6 separate regions of the Homo sapiens genome follow, and regions 1, 2, 3, 5 and 6 are each linked to region 4. The links are contacts of gene promoters, found by promoter capture Hi-C in blood cells and fetal thymus (Javierre and others, 2016). All regions are on one chromosome and are shown on one strand. Each heading gives the region's core, a stretch centred on a gene start or on the middle of the fragment in contact. The rest is flanking DNA. Distances are from core to core; before and after follow the strand shown.

Region 1 (2,700 bases), core at 61-2,560, 5.8 Mb after region 4:
CTGGCTAATTAAAAAACCTTTTTTTAGAGACAGGGTCTTGTTACATTACCCAGGCTGGTCTGGAACTCCTGGCCTCAAGTGGTCCTCTCCTGCCTCAGTGTCCCAAGTAGCTGAATACTACTTTTTTAAAAGCAATGTATCTTGCAAATTTAGGAACATATCTAGGACTGAAAGTTAGTAGAGTTGGGGGAAAAAAATGTTTGAGAGTCTTACCCAGGGTTTGAAGCCCATCTCTGTACCGTTTCTTCATCATCACCATCACACAAATCAGCGAAAGTGGCTTCTAAATCCTCTAATTGATGAATTCGAGTATCAACAATATCTACCAAATCTTCCTTTAAATACATTGAAAAGCTGAGATTATATAGTTATTCTTTCAAAAAACAAGCAACATCCCATTACAAAAAAAACTTGGCTCTATTAGTTAAAACATAATTTTCAAGTACTAACCATGGGCTTCGCCAATACACACACACACACACACACACACACACACACACACACACACACTTTGAGCAGTCTTTGAGATCACTGTGGTAATTTGCAAGATATTATTAGTTATATGATAAATGAATAAAACCCCAAAGAAACAAATGGAGGATACCTCTGTTAGGTTGGTGCCAGGTTTCTTAAATTGGTACAGCTCTTGTAAGATTTTGTACTCTTCCTGGAAAACAAAACAAAAAATCCACATACCAGAAAAAAAAAAGTTAAAATTTTTTAATGATATGCTTTAAGGAAGAGACAACCTTCCTTGTGATACAAGAACATCTTAGATAATTATTTAAAGGTATGTATGGGAGAATCAGGCAAAATGTATACTTTAGATTTTTATTGTAATAATTTTATTGTAAATATTGTAAAATTTTGTTTTATTGTAAATATCACTTCTTCAAGGCAACTCTATCCAGCTGGGCATGGTACTACTATGTAAAAATTACCTAAGGAAGCATACTTGGTGGCTAATGGGTCACGAGATGAAAATATTTTAAATAATATTCTGCTATATAAATGCCATGTCCTAGGATCTAAACAGACTTAGCTGTTTACAGGAAATATACATATCTTTAATAACAACAACAAAGAACTCCCTATGTTCACTTTGCAGCCATTTCTCTAACAACAGAAGAGATCTCTGAAGTACAAAGGCAATACTGGAGGTAGAATGTCAAAGACATAGAACCTCGGTCAGGAGGCACCACACAAGGGGAGAAAGAGGCTTGCTATACAAACTTTGTAGGATAATGTTTCCCCTTGTTTAGCACAGCTACATGGATCCATTATATAGGTGGGTACACCTGGCCCCAGTAATCCTATTTAGGAGTATTCTCAGGAAAAGGTTATACCCAAGGGCTAAAATTCATTAAGCACAATGTTGTGGCATATCTTCAGTGCTTTATTCATTATAACAATCCTGAGTTGGGTATGATTATTATTCTGATTTGATACTTGAAGAAACTATGGGTCGGAAAGGTTAAGTAATTTTCCTAAGATCATATAGCTAATAAGCAGTAGAGTTAACAACAGAACTTAACTCCCCTAACTTTTGAACATGCTTCTTTTTTATGAGATGGGGTCTCGCTGTCACCCAGGCTGGAGTGCAGGGGTGCGATCACGACTCACTGCAGCCTTGACCTCCCAGGCTCAAGTGATCCTCCCATCTCAGCCTCCTGAGTAGCTGGACCACAGGCACGTGCCACTATGCCTGGCTAAATTAAAAAAAAAATTTTTTTTTAATAGAGATGGGGTCTTGCTACGTTGCCTACGCTGTTCTCAAACTCCTTGGCTCAAGTGGTCCTCCTGCTTTGGCCTCCCAAAGTGCTGGGATTATACGCATGAGCCACCATGCCCAGCCTGAACATGCTCTTAAGAAAAAAAAAAAGATGAACATCTGTCTTTCCTAATGATATTTAAAAAATTGCTACTAAATAATAAAGTTTAATATATGCTTTTTAAAAAGTCCATTGTACCAAAGGGTATTTAGGCTATACAAATCCTTGTGTTCCCAGGTTTCCTAATAGCACTCTAAAAGGAATAACTGCCACTGAATTCCTTATGTAACCTTCTAGAAACTTTCATTACAAATATTTATTACAAATATTTAGGTGAGTAATCAGGCACATCACTGTTTAAGGAATAATCTGTTACACAGGATTTATATATAGAATATCGCTGGAAAGATACACAAGAAACTGATCACAGTATTTGTTTCTGAAGCAAAGAACTGAGGGAATGGGGATAAGAGAGTGCTGTTTTTCAATGTACACTTGTCCCTTGGTATCCGTGGGGGATTGGTTCTGGGACCTCCTGTGGATACCAAAATCTGTGGATGCTCAAGTCCCTGACATAAAATAGTGTAGTATTTGCATATAACATATGCATACCCTCTCATATACTTTAAGTCATCTCTAAATTACTTGTGGTATCTAATACAGTGTAAATCCTATGTAAATAGTTGTTATACTGTATTGTTTTTTATTTGTATTATTTTTTACTCTTGTATTGTTATTTCTAGTTGTTTTTTATTTTTTCTGAATATTTCCTATCTGTGGCTGGTTAAATCCAGGAATACAGAACCCACGGATACAGAGGGCTGACTGTATATACCTGTACTGTATGACTTAATTTTTATCCATCACCCATGTATACATTACCCCAATTAATAAATGCAAAATAATGAATACTATCTAGAGCAGGAGT
Region 2 (2,787 bases), core at 214-2,713, 5.1 Mb after region 4:
TTTGACACTTTTTTTTTTCTGTTTGAGACACAGTCTTGCTCTGCCACCCAGGCTGGAGTGCAGTGGCGCGATCCTGGCTCACTGCAACCTTGGTTCAAGCGATTCTCGTGCCTCAGCCTCCCGAGTAGCTGGGATTACAGGCGCCCGCCACCACACCAGGCTAATTTTTGTATTTTTAGTAGAGATAGGGTTTCTCCATGTTGGCCAGGCTGGTCTCAAACTCCTGACTTCAGATGATCCACCCGCCTCGGCCTCCCAAAGTGCTGGGATTAGAGGCGTGAGTCATCGTTTGTCTCATTTTTGTTTACATTTAAAATAATAAACCTTGAGGTCGGGCGCGGTGGCTCACGCCTGTAATCCCAGCACTTCGGGAGGCCGAAGCGGGTGGATCATCTGAAGTCAGGAGTTTGAGACCAGCCTGGCCAACATGGTGAAACCCCCGTCTCCATTAAAAATACAAAAATTAGCGGCATGGCGCGGTGGCTCATGCCTCTAATCCCAACACTTTGGGAGGCTGAGGCGGGCGGATCACGAGGTTAGGGGTTTGAGACTAGCCTGGCCAACATGGTGAAACCCCGTCTCTACTAAAAATACAAAAATTAGCCGGGTGTGATGGCAGGCGCCTATAATCCCAGCTACTCGGGAGGCTGAGGCAGGAGAATCGCTTGAACCTGGGAGGCAGAGGTTGCAGTGAGCCTATACTACGCCATTGCACTCAAGCCTGGGCGACAGAACGACACACACACACACACACACACACACACACAAAATTAGCTGGATATAGTGGCGGGCGCCTGTAATCCCAGCTACTCAGGAGGCTGAGGCAAGAGAATCGCTTGAACCTGGGAGACGGAGGTTGCAATGAGCAGAGATCGCGCCATTGCACTCCAGCCTGGGCGACAAGAGCAAAACTCCGTCTCAAAAGTAAATAATAATAAAATAAAAAACCTTGAACGTCATCGCTGTAAGTTGGGAACTCCTATAGCAAGATTCCATACATCCCATTTTTGGACGTTTTATTCCAAAGACACAAGCAAACGGAAGAAAACGACTGCCGTGAACCCCTGCTAACGACAACTTGGTGACTGCAGGATCATTGGACGACGGTTTTATCCTCGCCATCCAATCGTTGGAAAGTCCGGAGAGAACGCTCTCTGGATTGGTTGGAGGAAACATCTCTCCAAGTGCACTCAAGAATGGGTTGGGAGCGGGGTTCGGCCGGCAGCGCCTCGGGCCAATCAGAGAAAGCATGAGGGCGGGCTCTGCCGCAGGAAGGTGGTGAATCTCGGCGGGTCAAACTCTCCTGACGTGATGGGGGGGCGTGGCCTCCAGTTGCGGTCTCCCGGCTCTCTGGGCCCGCGCACGGGATGGGCGGGGCCCACGGGCCTGGGCGGGGCGAGCGGTGTCAGCGGCGGAGCCGGATGCGGGCGGCATCGCGGCGGTCGCGGCCTTGGGGATGGGCGGAGCCCCAGCCGCTAGTGCTGGTGGCCGCCGCTGCTGCCCCAGCTGGAGCCCGAGCCGCCGCCTCTGCGTCCGCGCGTCGCTGCTTCCCAGGGCGGCGGTATGCTGGGGAAAGGAGTAGTCGGCGGTGGCGGCGGCACCAAGGCCCCCAAGCCCTCCTTCGTGTCGTACGTACGCCCTGAGGTGAGGGGGCGCCGCGCAGGCGGGGCGTCGGGCAGGGGCGGCCGGGGCGAGGGGCGCCGGGAGCCCCTTCCTTGCAGCGGGGAGCGCCGCGGAGCGCTTCCTGCCCTTGTGCCGGGCGACGGGGCAGCCAGGCGGGCTGAGGCCGCAGGAGCGCGCTGGGGCCTCCGCGCGGGCCGGAATGGGGACCCCGGCGCAGGCAGGCAGGTGCCTGAGCGCAGGGCCCGAGCGCTGGAGGCTGGTGGAGGGGCCCGAGCCGAGAAGGGATTGCGGCCCGGAACGCCCCTGGGGATTCTGGAGAGGACCTGGGGTTGTGGGCACTGCTGGGAGGGGTAGGGCCGTGGGTCGGAGCCCCCAACGGGGCCTGCTCGGAGCCCGCGTGGGTCCGTCCTGCCTCTGGACTTTCTCAGTGAGCCCAGAAGCCCGCCGGCCTCCGCTGCCTGCGTCTGAGTGCCTCGGGTGCGGCTGGCGGGATGCCCTGCACCTACGTCCGCCTCCCGTCAGCGCTGCGGGGAGAAAAGGGGGTCGGCCTGGCCTCAGCCAGTCTCTGCTTGTCTCTCCCTTGGGAATTCTCCGCTGTCGCTTCTTTCTCCTCATCCCCTCACCATCATCCTTTCCACCCACTTCTTACTCTTCTGAATCTTCAGGTCAAGAAATTTGTTCATTCATTCAGAAAATACTTCTCGAGCTCCTACTGTGTGTCAGGCACTAAGTGCTTGTGATAGACATCAGTGAACAGGACAGAGATCTCTGCATTCCTGGAGCTTATTTGAGGGGGAAAGGAGAAACGGGGTGAATTATAGATAATTAAGTAAATTATACGGTGTAGTAGGAGGTGATAAATATCATGGGAAAGAAAAGAAATCTTTTTCCTCCTCGCAAAGGTGGCATTTGAGCCGAGACTTGAAGATACGAGAGGTCTGAGAGAAGAGTCGTCCAGGTAGAGGGAACAGCCCCCGGGAAGGTCGTGAGGTGGGAGTGTGTCTGAAGGGTTGGCGGAGCGTCAAGGAAGCCAGCATGGCAGAGGCCCATGGACAAGGGGGACAGTCATAGGAGAGGAGGTTAGAGAGATCAGAACTTGTAGGCCTTGCTCAGGGCTTCTTGAGCAATAGTTCTTAATCCAAATGCCTAATGAGAAGCCTTCTT
Region 3 (2,700 bases), core at 1-2,500, 5.2 Mb after region 4:
GAGGGCCGGGAAGGGTGTAGGCTGCAGTGGCAGCGGATCCCCGGCCGCCGCTTCCGGCGCCTCCCGGCCCAGCTCTCCCGCGCCGACTCTGCCACATCCTCCGGTGACGTCAGCCGGGGCCGCCATATTGGAAAGGCGCCGCCGCCGCCTCCGCCTTGGAGCTCGGGGTGTTTCGGGGACTGCGGCCACAGGCAGGAAGGCGCTCCTCTCCTGCCCCGCCGACGCCCGGCCAGCCCGCTTCGCCCTGACCTGTTTCCTCATGACTGCCCCCGGCCCTGCTGCCGACGGACGTCGCCCCGGCGTCCGGATTTAACACGGAAACCCGGATCGGAGGCCGCGCGGGGAGGAGGAGGGCGACCCGGTCGGTCCTGCGACCCTCTCGGCCCGGCTCGGCGCCTCGGCGGGAGCCATGACCTCGCTGACCCAGCGCAGCTCCGGCCTGGTGCAGCGGCGCACCGAGGCCTCCCGCAACGCCGCCGACAAGGAGCGGGCGGCGGGCGGCGGCGCCGGCAGCAGCGAGGACGACGCGCAGAGCCGCCGCGACGAGCAGGACGACGACGACAAGGGCGACTCCAAGGAAACGCGGCTGACCCTGATGGAGGAAGTGCTCCTGCTGGGCCTCAAGGACCGCGAGGTGCGGGCGCGGCGGGCTGGGCGGGGGGCGGCGGCGCGGGGCCCGGGCGCCAGGTGAGCTCCAGGTAGGTGCCAGGTGAGCGCCCGAGGCTTCCGGCCCGCGCACCTGCCCTCGCTCCGAAGTCCGCGCCTGGTGGCGCCCAGCTGACGCCGAGCGGTGTCGGAGTTGGTTGACCCCCTGGCGCGGCTGGTGCTTTCTGGATCCTCCCCGTAGAGATGGCTTGGATTTTTCCTTACCCCTTTCACAGTCGCTCCTTTCATTTCGACACCCTGGCAGTTTGTATTTCTTCGTCGCCTTTTTTCCGCGTTTTTAACCCGTGTAGACCCCAGGGTGCAAATCCAACCCGGAGACTGCCCGGGAAACTAACAGCTGGAGCCACCAGCGCCACGAACTCTTTGGGTTTTTGCAGGCTTTAGGACCTGGGAGGGGTGCCCGGATCTGCTTGCTGGGGATGTTTTTTTTTTCTTCTTCTTCAGTTAAAGCTTACTGTTGGGAATTACGAAAAACGTAGGCGAAGTGGTAATAGAGGGAAAAGCTCTTTTACTGAGTAAAGTTAAGTTAAGTTTCTCATGAAACCTCCTGGTAAATGACTTTCTAGGTGAACTTACATTAGGTGAGAGATTATTTTTAGTATCGCTTTTATATTTTATCAGTTGATGAATCTCAAAGTCTTGCCGTCTTAAGAAAGGGCTTTTTCATCGAGTGCTTGAAATGTAGGTTTGTGAGTTGATCAGAGGCCTCAAAGCTTCAGGTGGGTTGAAGTTGCAATAGATAATTCTTTGTATTCTGACTTTGAAAGCGTTTATTTTCACTTCAGTGTCCAAAATTTTCACACACAGAAAAGTTGAAAAAGTGATAGATACATATGCATATATACTCTTTCTAGATTCTATGACGTTTTGCTGTATTTGTTATATTTGCCTACAAAAATGATTATTTATTTATGTGGAGACGGAGTTTCGCTCTTGTTGCCCAGGCTGGAGTGCAATGCCGCGATCTCGGCTTACCGAAATCTCCGCCTCCCGGGTTCAAGCGATTCTCCTGCCTCAGCCTCCTGAGGCAGGCATGCGCCACCATGCCCGGCTAATTTTGTGTTTTTGTTTTGTTTTGTTTTTGAGACGGAGCCTCAGTTTGTCGCCCAGGCTGGAGTGCAGTGGCGCGATCTCCACTCACTGCAAACTCCGCCTCCCGGGTTCAAGCGATTTTCCTGCCTCAGCCTCCCGAGTAGCCGGGACTACAGACGTGCGCCGCCATGCCCAGCTAATTTTCATACCTTTAGTAGAGACGGGGTTTCACCATGTTGGCCAGGATGGTCTCGATCTCTTGACCTAGTGATCCGCCTGCCTCGGCCTCCCAAAGTGCTGAAATTACAAGCTTGAGCCACCGCGCCCAGGCCTGATTTTAAGAAAGTTTTCCAAATTCAGGAAGGTGGGCAAAAAAAAAAAAAAAGTCTTACAAAACAACGTAATCTTTCTTGGTCACTGAAACTTACTAGATATAGGCGAGTTTTATATGGACCGTTTATGGACCTTTCTTATTTAGAAATCTAATGAACTAACGGTTAGCTTGATAGATACGTCTGGGGCATTTGCCATATCTTGGTTTCCCATTTCTCAGGTTTTAATAACAGTAACCTTGAAAAAAGTTGATGTTCCTCTGGCTGTGAAAGGGCTGCTGTACCTGTTTAATTATTGAGTTGTGATGATAAAGCAGGCTGTATGTGCAGTTCCTTGTTCTTTGGATGAAAAAGTAAACTAGGGGTATAGCGTCCTAGTAATGTAATTTTTAGAAAATATTCAACTTTAGGTTTCAAAATTGGAAATCTTGATTATAAACATTTGTCTTTTTTTTTTTCTTTTTTTAGACGGAATCTCGCTCTGTCGCCCAGGCCTGGAGTGCAGTGGCGCCATCTGGGCTCACTGCAACCTCCCCCTCCCGGGTTCAAGCGATTCTCCTGCCTCAGCCTCCCAAGTAGCTGGGATTACAGGCATGCACCACCACGCCCTGCTAATGTTTTTATTTTTAGTAGAGACGGGGTTTCACCATGTTTGTCAGGCTGCTTTTGA
Region 4 (2,700 bases), core at 20-2,519:
ATGGTCTACCAAATAAAGTAAACTCACAGCTAGAGACCCAACTGCCTATCTATATACCAATGATAAAAAATCCAGTTTTTCTTGGTATATTGGCTATGTCAAATTTTAAGTGTAGATTGGTAACATCAAAGAACTTTCAATTTTCAGAAATGTAGTCAAGTCTTTGAGGGAGTAAAAATGTAATTCAAATAGCAAAAGACCAATTTAGAGTAATTCAGTTATTGATTTGTGAAATTCTGAAGAACATAACTGGAAGCTTTCTTAGGTGAGATTCTAAATAAGAGCAGCTTTCTAAAAAGTGCTTTGATTTACCCACTCAGGTTGCCTTCTGTAGTAAATGAAGCCTCTTTTACCTCTCTGCTTTCTCCTATCCTGCTATAGTTTATACCTATCCAAATAGAAAAATTATAATGAAGCCCTTTGTCTCTGCTTGAAGCACCTTAAGGACAGGAAACACTGTGTTAGTTTGATAGTCCCAGCACCAGGCACAAGGCAAGTATTCAGTTTCTTAGGATTGTATGAACTCTTGGGTTCCTATCTCATACGAGTTCCTATACTAGCGCTGGGAATGGAAAGATGAATTAGAACTGTCTGCTATCTCTGCCACGATAAAAAGCACGGCAGCGGTCCACCTGCACTCAGCTTCTTCTTAAACACGTATTTTATACTAAGGGGCAACAAAGTCAAAAGACAGCGACACGCAAATGGAAAAGCCTGATGAATTCTAATTTACACTGAAGCCCGCGAAGAATATAGTGAGATACTGGTTTATATCCCTCTCTGTGACAGCGACCTACCAATTCTTAACTACTCTCACAAAAGCAGTTACTTGGAGAACCAAACTGCGCGCTCATGCGCGAACTCATATAGCTGCAGTTAGCGGATACCGACGCGGGAAGTTCCAAGACTCAGGTCGAGCACGCGCTTAAACCAACGGAACCTGACCAACCTCCTAGGCCAGACACACGACCTAGCTCCCACCTACCGTATCCCTCCTCCCTCCTTCCTCCTCACCCTATCCAACCCCATCCCGCCCCTCTCCTTCCCTGTTCCCTCCCCTTTATCCTTCCCTTCCTTTCCCTCCCTCCCTTCCCTAAATAACCTACCCTAATTTTACCCTGCCACACCCCAAAACCCTCAACCCCCTCGAAAGCATCAGCAGCCTCCTAGCTCCACCCACAACCTCTAGCCCCCTCCCAACAGCTTCCTCTTCCCAGGCCAGAACGGCGTCTTCCAGTTCCCCACCGGATGAAGCGGAAGTGCGTCATGTCGAGGCGCCAAGGCGCTCGTTTGGCGCGCGCGCCCTAGGCGGCGGATCTAAGCTAACTTCTTGGATCTTTTCTTGTTTCTCCTTGGTTTTTGACTTTTTCTGGACCCTGGTGTCTACGATTTCCGAGATGCCGTCTTCTTTGTTGGGCGCGGCGATGCCGGCCTCTACATCTGCCGCAGCCCTGCAGGAAGCTCTGGAAAATGCTGGACGGCTCATCGACCGTCAGTTGCAAGAGGACCGCATGTACCCGGACCTTTCCGAGCTGCTTATGGTGTCTGCCCCAAGTGAGTGATAGTGACCCTGCTTTCTCAACCTAAAGGACTCTCGCCTGACTTCCTAATTTGCTACTTATCCCCAGCGTTGGTCCCGGCGAGGATATGCTGAGATTTATGGCACTGTTGGCTGCATTTTTGGAGAACAGCAAGCAGCTTCTTTTCAGGTTTTTTCCTTTCCTCACTTTCTTCATTGTAGATACTTGAGAGGGCAAGAGTGAAGAGCAAGCTCCCAGTTGAAGCAGAAAGAGGCAAAGACCTCAACCTTAATGAGCTTCTCGCCGCTCTCAAGTGCTTATGGCTAAGGCCATATGAGAAGCATCTCCAGATCCAAGTCCCAAATTTGTTCATTTCTCCTGTTAGTGTTTGAGTAGATCGTAAGAGCAAACGAAGTTAATTTGGAAATTTAGCATGTTATCTTAAAGATACGCTTTGCTTTATATTTATTTGTTTATTTATTGAGACGGAGCGGTTCCCTCTTCGCCCAGGCTGAAGTGCAATGGCGCGATCTCGGCTCATTGCAACCTCCGCCTCCTGGGTTCAAGCGATTCTTCTGCCTCAGACTCCCAAGTAGCTGAGATTACAGGCGCCTGCCACCAAGCCCGGCTAATTTTTGTGTTTTTTAAGTAGAGACGGGGTTTCACCATATTGGCCTGGCTGGTCACGAACTCTGACCTCAAGTGATCCGCCCGCCTCGGCCTCCCAAAGTGCTGGGATTACAGGCGCAAGCCACTGCACCCGGCCAAGAAACGCTTTATTATGTGTAGAGATGTGTGTTATGAAATGCTGGAGGATCTTAAAAGAACTACCAGTGGAATAAAGAAAGAGAACAGGGAAATCACAGTGCTTATGTACAGGGAGAGTAAGGCAGAATATGTGTTGACAATATAGGTGACTGGAAAGTAATTTGTTTAACAGTTTTAAGTTATAACCAGCTCCCCACGGCTTATGGAATTACATCAGTTGCTAGAAAAAGTGACCCCTTTGTGAGATGGAATTTGGAGAAAACCAGCGAAGTGTAAGAAAGAAAAGATTGTTGGTGAGCAAGAACCAAAGTAATCTAAATAGGATAATTTGTGCAGTGTAAACCGAGAACACTTCTGATTATTTATAAAAATCATTGATAGCTTTGTAATCAAAGAAATGATAGAAACAAAG
Region 5 (2,759 bases), core at 47-2,546, 6.1 Mb before region 4:
GTGTTATAGACATACTGATTTGCTGTGGAGGTTGGATATGGTCAGCTGTGTTAACAATTAACTAATCCTCTAGCCAATTTGAAATAAGATTTGCAACCACAAATAACTGAAATTCTGTATATTTCTATAAAGTGGATAAAATTACGCAATGATTATCTTAAAATGGGGAAGAGTCTTCAGCTTTTTATGAATTTTTTTTCTTTTGGTTTATCTAATTTATTACAGTAAATCTTGTGATAGTCTTCACATTTTAGTGATTTCACTTGAGAATATTCACAAAATAATAGCTTTTTGTTACCTCTTGAATGTATTTTTCTGTTGGGTTTTATTGTGTTTCAGTCTAAGTGCTCATTCATTGCTATTAATGATTTGCCTCAAAAAAGATAGTTTCTTTAGCAAACATTTCTATTGATTCAGCCAATCATTTCAGATCATTCATTTTATTAAACTTGATACTTGTTTTAGATATGTAGTAAGTTACATATAATTACACATATGCATACAAGCATATGTGTATATGCATTAGCAGGTGTTTTTTGGTTTAAATTTTAGTAAGCAAATGCTCAGTCAGTCTTATTTTGTGTGAATATTTTTTGATAAAACTTAAACGCATTTTACTTTGAAAAACTAAAAGAATTAGAACATTTAAAATTGAACTTTAAATGAAATCCAAATATCGCCTTTATTTTGATTCTTAAATGTCACTTGTATTAATCACAAATATAAGTAAATCATTTTATTCTTGATGAATAATGGAAAAAATTTGGCTTTTCTATGACCAGTGAAAAATATTTTGAGAATTGCCCAGTAAATGCTTCACTTTAACATTTTTTCTTTATCCTTTTTTCCCAAATTGTCTTATTTTTACATTTGTTTATAATTTTATAATGTATTCAAGTTCATTTTTCAAGTATTTCTTTTAATGTATTCACTTTAGATATGTGACAACAGTAACATCATGGTGCAGGAGACTGACCCAGACTAGTCCCAGAGAGATGCCCACTCATTCGTCATCTTCTGTTCTCCAAGAAAATTGGTATTTTTCTTTTAAACTTAAATCTGTTTAGAAGAGCTAATACTTTAAAAAAAATTAAAATGTCAAATGGTAAACTGAGACTTTTTTCCCCAAAAAAACTTTCTTAGTTTTGAATATGTTTAACTCCTAAAGTATTTTTGATAGCTTAAGCTTGAAAATAATTTCTAATCAGACATCTAATTTATTACATTTCATCATATTCTATTTTACCTAAAGGTAAGAAAACCTTGCATTGAAAACTTAACATGAAAATGAGTGGCTCTTTTTATGTGACAAATTCATCCTGAAAACTTTATGGAAAAATTTAAAGGGGATTCTTAAATTTTTAGTAATGTTGAAGGAAATAAAAGGTTTAATAACATAAGCTTTCAGAAAACATTGATTTTTAAATAATTTCTGTCATATTAGTTACTTCTCCCAAATTAACTGGCAGATCAAATAAAGCAAGTATTTTAGTCCCTCCTGTGTGCTTTTCAGTGTGCAGGGTACTAGAACTGGGCTTCAAGGGAACTTTCTGTGAAAATATAAGACATTTTAGGGAGGAAATAAGGGCAGAAGTAAAAAGGATATTTTAGCCTGTGGAGATAGAAGATAGTTTTTATGGAACATATGCTATCTATTAGTATATAGTATGAGTTTTGAGGGCTAGGAATGGATCTTATAATAAATAGGAGTTCAGACCTGATGGAATTAGAAAGTCCTAAATGGAAAAATGATAGGAAGAAAGGTCATTAGAAGATTAGTGTCACTGAGAGTCTAACCTGAATATATGGGAAGACAGGGATACCAGGAACAATTTGGGAAGCTTTTTAAGTAAGTTTTGTGAGGTGACCTAACATAGTGTAGTGAAACAAAATGTAAACATTAAGCCAATTTTTGTTACCTTTTCCTAAGCCCTTTCTTAGAACAAATCAAATCATATCAGTAAGCGTTATTTGAATATCTCAGGTAGCTTAAGGATCCAGCTTTGCAGATCCCTCATCCTTTAGCTGTAGCCTGTTTGGAAGCAGAAAAGTTGCTAAAGTAACTAGCAAAAAACAATTGTGATGGAAGGAAAATTGTACTTGTCTATAAAACCATCACTTCACCATTGCTTAGCTGGCAGTTTGTAAAATATCATCAGCCTTTTTATTTGAAAGCTGAGAAGAGGCTGTCAATACACACTAAAAACTGCAAGTAGAGATTGGTGATAGTAGCTAAAGGTGAAAGCAACTAGGAACAGCAGAGGCAAGATAAAGAAATTGAGGAGTAGCTCCATTCCCCCTATAAAGCCTTAGGTATCTCCACTTCGGTTTTTCTTATCAAAGAGGGTAGGTTGAAGGAAGAAACAAGATTGTACAATAAAAAGCTACCTAAGTTGTATTCTAGTATTTTTTTTCCGCCACACCCTCCATTATTAGCTTATTAATTCAACTTTTTAGTCAACAAATAGTACGTTTCATAAAAAGTTCGTTCATTATGAGAGCAATAACAATAAAGGTTGTATTGTTTCTTACATCCAGAAAAATGCGTTGGGTTTAAAAAAAAAAAGATATTTTGCAATAATGAACAATCAGCTGGTTGTTGGGGTAAGTTGTATCCAAGTTCTTTGCCACAGGTGTTTAAAATTATGAAATATTTCTTTTCATTCTCCATCCATAGGCTGGAGTACAAGGGAAAGAGTACAAGCTGACAGGGAGGTGCATGTGATCTGTTGTAGTAAAGCCAATAAAGCAGACAAGTC
Region 6 (2,778 bases), core at 65-2,564, 6.2 Mb before region 4:
TAAAGTTTTACTGAAAAATCAACTGACAAAAGATATATTAAAAGAAATGACTGTGAGGCCGGGCACGGTGGCTCACGCCTGTAATCCCAGCACTTTGGGAGGCCGAGGCAGGTGGATCACAAGGTCAGGAGTTCGAGACCAGCCTGGCCAATATGGTGAAACCCCGTTTATACTAAAAATACAAAAATTAGCCGGGCGTGGTGACGTGTGCCTGTAATCCCAGCCACTTGGGAGGCTGAGGCAGGAGAATCACTGAACCCAGGGAGGCGGAGGTCGCAGTGAACCGAAATCATGCCATTGCACTCTAGCCTGGGTGACACAGCGAGACTCCGTCTCAAAAAAAAAAAAAAAAGAAATGACTATGCTCAGAGGAGACTCAGAAAGTAATTACCCAAATGGGGTACAGAAGCTGATATACTTACTATCTTGAAGTTACAGAAAGAGAGGAATCCCAGCACATAGCCAAAAACAGATTATGGTGTTAAATCGGTTATAGTAGCAAGACACGGTAGGGGAGAGAGAGAGAGAAGAGGAGAACTGGCTAGCAAAGGTGGTCTTATTATGTAGATGAAATCTCACAGGTAGCAGTCCTCAGAGAGAATGTTTATAAACCTTTAAAGGTATCAGAGTCTCAGTTAATCTTTCCTAGATGGGACAAGTGAGGGTCTCAGAGAAAGCCTCACTGCATCAATGCAAGTTGTCTCTACAGATCCAATCTTCCCCAAAAAAGGCAGGTTTTTAGCTACTCTTATATTTTCAGCCCATCCAAATAACCATCTTGAACTATGTCAAGGTGAAATATTTTGGTTTCTTTCATTAGCCTCGTGGAATTTACAGTACAGCTAAGAGATCAACGTTAAACAAGTATCAGTAGATATTGAGGAGATTCCAAGCAGCATTCCTGGCTATCTTAGACTCTAAGATGAATTGGGGCCCTAATCCAGATGGGAGTCTCAAGAGCTGACTGCCTGGGGTTACTTTTAATAGTGGCCAGAGGAAGATAATTTACACAGATGAGAAACACAAGGACAAATGCATCAGCTAATTTTTTTCTCTCTTAATGATGCCCCCACTCATTTATAATGATATGTAAGTTGCCATGATGATTTGTGCAGAAAGGAGTGAACTGAACTAGCTAGGAGAGAATTAGGAGTGATGGAATAACATGGAACGAAGTTTATTTATATGTTAGGTTTCTAAAACTTAGTTGTAGATTCACATGCAATTGTAAGAAATAATACAGAGAGAACTTGTTTACTCTTCACCTTGTTTCCCCCAATAGTAACATCTTGTATAACTATAAGTGATACAGTTCACCAACCTTAGTTTTATATGCACATGTGTGTATGTGTGTGTATGTGTGCACACTTATTTCTATGCAATGTTATCACATGTATAGACTTATGTGACCATCATTATAGTAAAGAACAAAATAGTTCCATCACAAGGTTTTTCTCATGCTACCTACTTTTTTAATAACCCCATCTACTTGCCTCTAAATTCCACTCCCTCCTTAACCCCTGGCAACCACAAATCTGCTCTCCATCTTCATAATTTTGTCATAAATTGAATCATACAATTGCTCTTGAGATTGAAATTTTGTGTTCAGCATAATTCCCTTGAGATCCATCAACATTCTTATATGAGCAGTTGTTCCTTTTTTTTGCTGAGTAGCATTCTGTGGTATGAATGTACCACAGTTTAACTATTCATCAAAGGATATTTGGGTTCTTTCTAATTTGGGGCTCTTATTAATGATGCCACTCTAAATATTTGGGTACAGGATTTTATGTGAATATAAATCTTAATTCTCTGTGAGAAATGTCCAGCAGTGCAATTGCTAGGTAGTACAGTACTTAATATGTAGAGTTTTTTAAAGAAACTGTTTTCTAAAGTGACTATAGCATTTTACATTCTCACCAGCAATGTATGAGCAACACAGTTCCTAGTTTCTCTACATCCTTGAATTTGCATTGTCACTATTGTTTATTTAAGCTATTCGAATAAGTAGGTAGTGAAATCTCAGTGGTTTTAAAAAAATTTTCCTACTGGCTAATTATGTTGAACATTTTTCATAGGCTTATGCTATCTGTATATTCCCTTCAGTGAAGTGTTCTTTCATTTATGTTTGGCCCTTTTCTAACTGAACTGTCCTTTTACAGTTGAGTTAGGTGTTTTGTTTGTTTGGGTTTTTTTCAGACGGAGTCACGCTCAACCCAGGCTGGAGTGCAGTGGTGCAATCTCGGCTCACTGCAACCTCTGCCTCCCGGGTTCAAGCGATTCCCCTGCCTCAGCCTCCCAAGTAGCTGGGATTACAAGCACGCATCACCATGCCTGCTAATTTTTGTATTTTTAGTAGAGACGGGGTTTCACATGTTGTCCAGGTTGGTCTCGAACTCCTGACCTCAGGTAATCTGTCCGCCTCAGCCTCCCATAGTGCTGGGATCGCACCTGGCTATAGTACTCTCAATACAGTTGAGTTCTGAGAGTACTTTATATATTCTAGATACAAGTCTTTTGTCAAATATGTGGTGCCTTCATCCATTTTTGTTGCTATAAAGGAATAGCTGAGGCTGGGTAATTTATAAAGAAAAGGGTTTCATTTGGCTCACTATTCTGCAGGCTGTACTAGAAGCATGGCACCAACATCTGCTTCTGGTGAGGGCTTCAGCCTGCTTCTATGCATGGCAGAAAGTGAAGGGGAGACAGTGTGCAGAGATTACATGGCAAGAGAGGAAGCATGAGACAGGGGGAGTGTGCCAGGCTCTTTTCAACAAC

The links. The method cuts DNA at HindIII sites, captures the fragments that hold promoters and counts their contacts. A CHiCAGO score of 5 or more calls a contact.
Region 1: a fragment that was not itself captured here is called in contact with the fragment with the promoter of NUP155 in region 4 in 1 of 17 cell types (total CD4 T cells); the score reaches 9.6 in total CD4 T cells.
Region 2: the fragment with the promoter of MTMR12 here is called in contact with the fragment with the promoter of NUP155 in region 4 in 4 of 17 cell types (total B cells, total CD8 T cells, total CD4 T cells and 1 more); the score reaches 6.8 in total B cells.
Region 3: a contact is called between a fragment that was not itself captured here and the fragment with the promoter of NUP155 in region 4, in 2 of 17 cell types (total CD4 T cells and naive CD8 T cells). The highest score is 6.6, in total CD4 T cells.
Region 5: a contact is called between a fragment that was not itself captured here and the fragment with the promoter of NUP155 in region 4, in 1 of 17 cell types (total B cells). The highest score is 5.2, in total B cells.
Region 6: a contact is called between a fragment that was not itself captured here and the fragment with the promoter of NUP155 in region 4, in 1 of 17 cell types (activated CD4 T cells). The highest score is 7.4, in activated CD4 T cells.

The regions. Positions count from the first base shown.
Region 1 is chr5:31,538,916-31,541,615 of GRCh38, reverse strand. It overlaps C5orf22 (chromosome 5 open reading frame 22), which reads right to left. Exons shown (of 9, transcript NM_018356.3): 5 at 605-667; 6 at 214-335. Among named protein-coding and RNA genes, the nearest start is that of C5orf22, 8.0 kb to the right of the region's middle. The HindIII fragment of the contact is 5,751 bases long and covers 1-2,700 here.
Region 2 is chr5:32,311,615-32,314,401 of GRCh38, reverse strand. MTMR12 (myotubularin related protein 12) reads left to right here and starts at 1,463. Exons shown (of 16, transcript NM_001040446.3): 1 at 1,463-1,644. The coding sequence starts at 1,564. RefSeq lists an enhancer at 995-1,044 and silencers at 1,135-1,924, 1,995-2,134. The HindIII fragment of the contact is 10,159 bases long and covers 1-2,787 here.
Region 3 is chr5:32,171,744-32,174,443 of GRCh38, reverse strand. GOLPH3 (golgi phosphoprotein 3) reads left to right here and starts at 125. Exons shown (of 4, transcript NM_022130.4): 1 at 125-634. The coding sequence starts at 410. RefSeq lists a silencer at 232-841. The HindIII fragment of the contact is 263 bases long and covers 1,119-1,381 here.
Region 4 is chr5:37,369,675-37,372,374 of GRCh38, reverse strand. NUP155 (nucleoporin 155) reads left to right here and starts at 1,269. Exons shown (of 35, transcript NM_153485.3): 1 at 1,269-1,554. The coding sequence starts at 1,398. RefSeq lists enhancers at 1,277-1,366, 1,487-1,596. The HindIII fragment of the contact is 10,669 bases long and covers 259-2,700 here.
Region 5 is chr5:43,488,908-43,491,666 of GRCh38, reverse strand. It overlaps C5orf34 (chromosome 5 open reading frame 34), which reads left to right. Exons shown (of 13, transcript NM_198566.4): 11 at 938-1,036. All of the region lies in intron 2 of C5orf34-AS1 (C5orf34 antisense RNA 1), which reads right to left. Among named protein-coding and RNA genes, the nearest start is that of C5orf34-AS1, 6.4 kb to the right of the region's middle. RefSeq lists an enhancer at 2,685-2,759. The HindIII fragment of the contact is 215 bases long and covers 1,189-1,403 here.
Region 6 is chr5:43,560,403-43,563,180 of GRCh38, reverse strand. No RefSeq gene overlaps it. Among named protein-coding and RNA genes, the nearest start is that of PAIP1, 4.7 kb to the right of the region's middle. The HindIII fragment of the contact is 3,752 bases long and covers 1-2,778 here.